2 separate regions of the Homo sapiens genome follow, and region 2 is linked to region 1. Evidence: promoter capture Hi-C in 16 types of primary human blood cells and fetal thymus (Javierre and others, 2016). All regions are on one chromosome and are shown on one strand. The core of a region is centred on a gene start or on the middle of the fragment in contact, and the rest is flanking DNA. Distances in the headings are between cores, read along the strand shown. Region 1 holds the start of SPECC1 (sperm antigen with calponin homology and coiled-coil domains 1). Region 2 overlaps USP22 (ubiquitin specific peptidase 22).

Region 1 (3,199 bases), core at 637-3,136:
CCAGGCAGTCTGCAGTCAAGTTCTGCCAAACTTGAGGGAACAGATAATTCTTCTATTCCAGAGCATAGAAAATGATGGAAAGTTTCCCAATTTAATCAGAGAGGACAGCCTGATCCTTGTTATGAACACAGATAAAAATGGGGTAAACTATATGCCAAACTCAGATACCAAAACCCTAAATAAGATGCTAGCTTATTGATGTGAACAATCCAAAAGTGCATTTTAAATTAGCCCAGGGTTTTAGAGAAAGAAAATCTAGCAATGTGACCACCACTTATGTTAACAATTTTAAGACGAAAATCTACATGATCATATCAATGCATGCTACACAAAAGCATTTGGGCAAAAAACCCAACACCCACCCTTGACTTTTTAAACTCTTAGTAATTAGGCATAAACAGAAATGTACTTAATGTGATAGAATACACTCGGTGAAGATACAGAGGGAATGCTCCCTAAAACCAAGCCCAAGACAAAGATTCCTATTTAACCTCAATAGTCAACACTGCAGCGAGAGTAATCTATGGAAGACAAGGAAAAAAGTAAAAACATGAGAGACATCTGTTGTTTAACAGACAATAAGATCACCTACTTGGAAGAGGCAAACGAATCAAGCGAAAAACTATTAAAACTGAGACAGGCTTTAGTATGGAGGCTCAGCTTCAGCTGTAGTTTGGGCTACCAAATTCAACTCGCTTGCTTGGAGAGTTAATCCTGCAAAGCTAATTTCTGTTGAGGTATTAGGATTGACAAGCCTGTGCTCCTCCCTCCTCCCCCATCTTCAACACTGAAATAACACGGTGTTTGGAACTGGATAACAGAATCTTCCAAAAACAAAAATTGTCCTGAAGGGCTGACTTGTGCCCTTACTCAAAAAACACTTTATCTGCTGCCTGCAGCTCCTACAGTTGCTGGTGGATAAGCCTGCCAACCAGCTCGGCGTAATTCTTCCTGCAGAGGGCAAGGAAGAGCACTTTCACAGGAAAATTTTTTTCCGAACTGTATGCCGCTTATTACATAAACTTACGTGCTGGCAAATGGAGCTCCAGCAAAATAAGATATTCAGAGTCAAACTTCCTTAGGAAAAAAAAAAAAAAAAAGCAAGCACATAACACTAATTTCCTTGCATGGGCACTGGGGAAGGAGGTCGTTACTTCCGCACGCCCGCAGGTCCGCACCACCGGGAAACCCACGGGCACCGCGCGCTGCCCCCGGGCCTTCCAGGTGCACTGCGCCGCGGCGCCCCAGCTGACCCGGGATGCGCAGCCCTAGCCCTTCCCCTGTCACCCCGGCCAGGAAGGGGCGGGAGCGCGGCGGACGCCGAGGGCGAAGGGCTTCTCGGTCCTCTGCACCACGCAGCACCCCCAAGGCACAACAGGGAGGGTGCGGGAGGCTCCCGAGACCCAGGAGCCGGGGCCGGGCGTGCCCGCGCACCTGTCCCACTGCGGCGAGGGCTGGGGTCGCCTCCAGGGCCGCAGCTGTCGGGAGCCACCTGGCTCTCAGTCCCGGGTCCCTGCGACAACCCTCGGGCCCGGAGGGGAGGAGGCGGCCACCTGCCGCTGCCACCTGCGGCACCGGTCCCACCGCTCCGGGCCGGGCAGGACAGGCCAGGACGTCCCTCCTGGGCTGGGGACAGGACACGCGACGAGGGGACCGGGGCCCCCGCGGCGAAGACGCAGCACGCCTTCCCAGAAAGGCAGTCCCGTGCCCCCACGACGGACTGCCGGACCCCCGCGCTCGCCCGCCCATCCCTTCAGACCACGCGGCTGAGGCGCAAAGAGCCGGCCGGCGGGCGGGCTGGCGGCGCGGCTAGTACTCACCGGCCCCGCTGGCTCAGCGCCGCCGCAACCCCCAGCGGCCACGGCTCCGGGCGCTCACTGATGCTCAGGAGAGGGACCCGCGCTCCGCCGGCGCCTCCAGCCATCGCCGCCAGGGGGCGAGCGCGAGCCGCGCGGGGCTCGCTGGGAGATGTAGTACCCGGACCGCCGCCTGCGCCGTCCTCCTTCAGCCGGCGGCCGGGGGCCCCCTCTCTCCCAGCTCTCAGTGTCTCATCTCCCTATCTGCTCATCCTCTGGTCGCACATAATCGATGTTTGGGCGTCCCAAGCCAGATGTGGACCCCATTTCCGCACTCTACACTGGAGGTTTTCTAAGGGTGGTGCCCGGACCAGCAGCTTCAGCCTCATCTGGGAACTTGAGAAAATGCAGATTCTCCGTCCCACCCAGCCTATTCGGTTTTTCCTGCACTAAAACCATGAAGGTGGGGCCCAGCAGTCCACATTCTCGCAAGCCCGTCAAGTGATTCTGAGGCGCCCTCCAGTTTGAGAGCTATGCTCACGGCCTCACCTCCGCCCCGCAAGGAGCCCGGTCTTGCCTGTGGCGCTAGCCGCACACGGACACCTCATCCTGCGGGGCCCGCCCCCCCGCTGCACCCTCACCGCCCAACGCCTCCTCCGGGATGCAGCGGAGGCGCCTGGAAGTCGGCAAGGTCAACATCCCCCTCAGCATCTTCCCTACCCTCACGGCTCCTCCTCCAGGGGTGCCTCATGGCCAGGGGTTAGAAAGAGCCACTGTGTTTCTTGACATGGAAGTGGCCTAAGACCTTAATGAAAACTGCAGGAGTGGAATGACAGAACCTTTGGTCATACTTGAGGGCGTGAAGCTCAAATGAGGAGGAAGGAAAGGATCCAGGGAGAATAACCAACCCTGGCAAGTTGTGGCGCCCAGGTAGAGGGGCGAGCCTAGGCTAGCGGTTCTCGACCAGGGCCGGTGTTGCCCCTCCTCGCCGCCCCGCGTACATTTGGGGAGGTCTGGAGACATTTTTGGTTGTCATGATGCGGGAGTTGCTACTGTTGCCTAAGTGGGTAGACACGAGGGTGCTCCTCAACATCCTACCTGAAGGACAGGACTGCCCCACAAGGAAGAATGATCCGGCCCCAAATAAGAAACCCTGGGCTGGTCAGCAACAACCCCTTTGTTCTGAGAAGAGAGGAGGAAAGAATAAAAGAAGTGGGGTGAAGTTTTGGTTTGGTAGAGGAAACTTGAAGACATTTTCACTGGAAAGGAAGAGAGGAAGAGGAGGGAGATGTCTGTAAGGACGAGCAAACCGGGTGACAGCTGATTTCCTCATATTGAAGTAATGAGTCCTAGTTATAATAAATTCCTAATAAAAACCCAGTTTATCCCTGCAATAAACTTGT
Region 2 (3,044 bases), core at 16-2,515, 1.0 Mb before region 1:
GGTGGCTGACGCCTGTAATCCCAGCACGTGGGGAGGCCGAGGGGGGCAGATCACGAGGTCAGGAGTTCGAGACCAGCCTGGCCAACATGGTGAAACCTCATCTCTACTAAAAATACGAAAAGTAGCCGGGTGTGATGGCGGGCGCCTGTAATCCCAGCTACTCCAGAGGTTGAGGCAGGAGAATCACTTCAACCCGGGAGGCGGAGGTTGCAGTGAGCAGTGATCGCGCCACTGTACTCCAGACTGGGTGACAGAGCAAGACCCCCTCCGGAAAAAAAAAAAAAAGGGTGGCCTGGTTGAAGCCAGTCTTCTACAGGGAATGTGCTGTTGCTACTCTGGGTCAGTAGTGTCCGGATTGGGACGTGACGCGCCCAAGATTTGTTACTACTTTGGATGAAGTGGGGACCGCCCCACTCTTCCTCTCCCTCCTTTTCTTTTTCCGTTCCCTCCCTCCCTCTCCCTTTCTTCCCCCCTCTGGTATTTTTTAACCAAATAGAAGGAGTCAAGTTTAAACCATCATTAACTAACTTTGCCTAATTTCCTAAAGTTAAGAATTACTTTTTTTTTTTGCGCTACTTATGGCTCTGATTAATCTTTTAATTTCAGATGTCAGTTGCTTAGTTTCAAAACTGTTGAGCCACATGTATGTTATTCACCAATTAGAAGTTGAACTGTAGTCGGGTAGTGAAAAATATTTCTTTCAAAATTTAGGTGGGGGCTGCTGCAGTGCCAGTTGGCAGTGTGCCAGCAAGGAGCCCTTAAGCCCTCCATGCTTTTTCCTCTGACTGGGGGGACTTATTTACCTGTATCACTTCATGTGCGGTGTCCTGCATTTCTAGCACTCTCTAGTGGCCCAGTTAAGGAAGAGTTGGTTTGGGAAATAGTTTAACAAACCTGATGATTAACAGTTGGACAATCTGCATAGGATTTCCATCAGATCTGTAAGCTTAGGACATTTTGTTTTTTAAATTTTATTTTATTAAAAATTATTTTTTGTAGAGACAGAGTCTTGCTCTGTTACCCAGGATGGAGTGCAATGGTCTGGTCAGTGATCACTGCAGCCTCAGATTCCTGGACTCCAGCCTCTCCTGAGTAGCTGGGACTACGGGCGTGTGTCACCACGACCGGCTAATATTTGTAGAGACAGTGTCTCACTATATTGCACAGGCTGGTCTTGAACTCCTGGACTCAAGCCATCCTCCTGTCTCCCAGAGTGCTGGGATTACAGGCCAGAGCCACTGAGCCCAGCCATATTTTTGGTTTTAATGATATGAACTTGACTGTAAAAGTACTTTAAGCTGATGATTGTGCCACTGTACTCCAGCCTGGACAACAAAACCTATCTCAAAACAAACTTCAACTTGAATTATAATCTTTGTAAACAAACAAAGGTACTTTTTGAGATGGACATCTCAGGTACAGTTTAAAGAAATGAATCCCTGAATGAATAGGAATTACGAGTTTTGTTATCTAAGGACAGATGGATTATGCATTTTGTACCCAAACTTTGATTCTTCTTTTAACAGGCAGAACATGACAAAAACATGACCAGGCTTGATAAATTTCTGTCCAAAAGAAGCTTGAATTGCAGTAAAACTCTGTTTTTTGAGATGGGGTTTTCACTCTTTTTGCCCAGGCTGGAGGGCAATGGCGTGATCTCGGCTCACCACAGCCTCCCCCTCCAGGGTTTAAGTGATTCTCCCAAGTAGCTGGGATTACAGGCATGCGCCACCATGCCTGGCTAATTTTGTATTTTTCGTAGAGATGGGGTTTCTTCATGTTGGTCAGACTGGTCTCGAACTCCCAACCTCAGGTGATCCGCCCATCTTGGCCTCCCAAAGTGCTGGGATTACAGGCATGAGCCACCGCGCCTGGCCCGAATTGCCATAAAACTCTTGTATTGCAGACTATAAAAATATTTCTGCCGGGCATGGTGGCTCACGCCTGTAATCCCAGCACGTTGGGAGGCCGAGGCGGGCGGATCACGAGGTCAGGAGATCGAGACCATCCTGGCTAACACGGTGAAACCATGTCTTTACTAAAAATACACAAAATTAGCTGGGCATGGTGGCACGCGCCTGTAATCCCAGCTACTCGTGAGGCTGGGGCAGGAGAATCGCTTGAACCAGGGAGGCGGAGGTTGCAGTGAGCCGAGATCGCACCACTGCACTCCAGCCTGGGCGACAGAGCGAGACCGTCTCAAAAAAAAAGAAAAAAACTATTTCCATGATTTAGGACTGGCACGACCACAGTGGCGTCTCCTTTGTGTTTTTGGTGTGTGTTAAATATAACAAATTTCTTACCATTTCAGGGTTTGTCTGTAAAGATAGGAACTGGCAGGAAGTGATTATGATTTAACATTCTACATTATATTTTGAATATAGACACTTTGGAGAACAGGTAATGTTTTTAAAACCATTTCTCTCTTTGAATCTAAAATTTTATGGCACTGTGTCCTCAAAACACTTTTTTAAATTTTTTATTTTTTATGTATTTTTTTTTTTTTTGAGACAGGGTCTGTCTCTCACTCAGGCTGGAGTGCAGTGGTATGATCATGGCTCACTGCAGCCTCGAGTTCCTGGGGTCCAGTGATCCTCCTGCCTCAGCCTCCCAAGTAGCTGGGACTACAGGCATGCGCCACCGCACCTGGCTAATTTTTGTATTTTTGGTAGCCATGAGTTTTGCCATGTTGCCCAGGCTGGTCTTGAACTTCTGAGCTAAGTGATCCTCTCTCCTTGGCCTCCCAAAGTGCTGGCATTACAGGCATGAGCCACCTCTCCCAGCCATCCAACAATGCCTCAGTCTGTCTTTACTGGCTCAGCCAGGTGCTGGGATGGTGGTGAGCACATTGTAGAGAGCTCTCATTACTTGTTTTTATTTTCATAGTCTAGCTCATTTTCCTGATACGTGCTATTGTATTTATTTATTTATTAAAAAAAAATAAAAGACTGAGTCTCCCTATGTTGCCCAGGCTGGTCTTGAACTCCTGGCCTTAGGAGATTCACTTCGGCCTCCCACAGTGCTGGGATGATATGTGCTATTTT

The links. Contacts are between HindIII fragments. The CHiCAGO score rates a contact against its expected background, and 5 or more counts as called.
Region 2: a fragment that was not itself captured here is called in contact with the fragment with the promoter of SPECC1 in region 1 in 1 of 17 cell types (erythroblasts); the score reaches 5.1 in erythroblasts.

The regions. Positions count from the first base shown.
Region 1 is chr17:20,008,046-20,011,244 of GRCh38, reverse strand. SPECC1 (sperm antigen with calponin homology and coiled-coil domains 1) reads right to left here and starts at 1,886. Exons shown (of 15, transcript NM_001243439.2): 1 at 1,821-1,886. It overlaps SPECC1-DT (SPECC1 divergent transcript), which reads left to right and starts at 1,985. Exons shown (of 1, transcript NR_186461.1): 1 at 1,985-3,190. RefSeq lists silencers at 1,215-1,394, 1,415-2,084 and an enhancer at 2,517-3,084. The HindIII fragment of the contact is 26,343 bases long and covers 1-3,199 here.
Region 2 is chr17:21,038,129-21,041,172 of GRCh38, reverse strand. All of the region lies in intron 1 of USP22 (ubiquitin specific peptidase 22), which reads left to right. Among named protein-coding and RNA genes, the nearest start is that of USP22, 3.4 kb to the left of the region's middle. The HindIII fragment of the contact is 633 bases long and covers 949-1,581 here.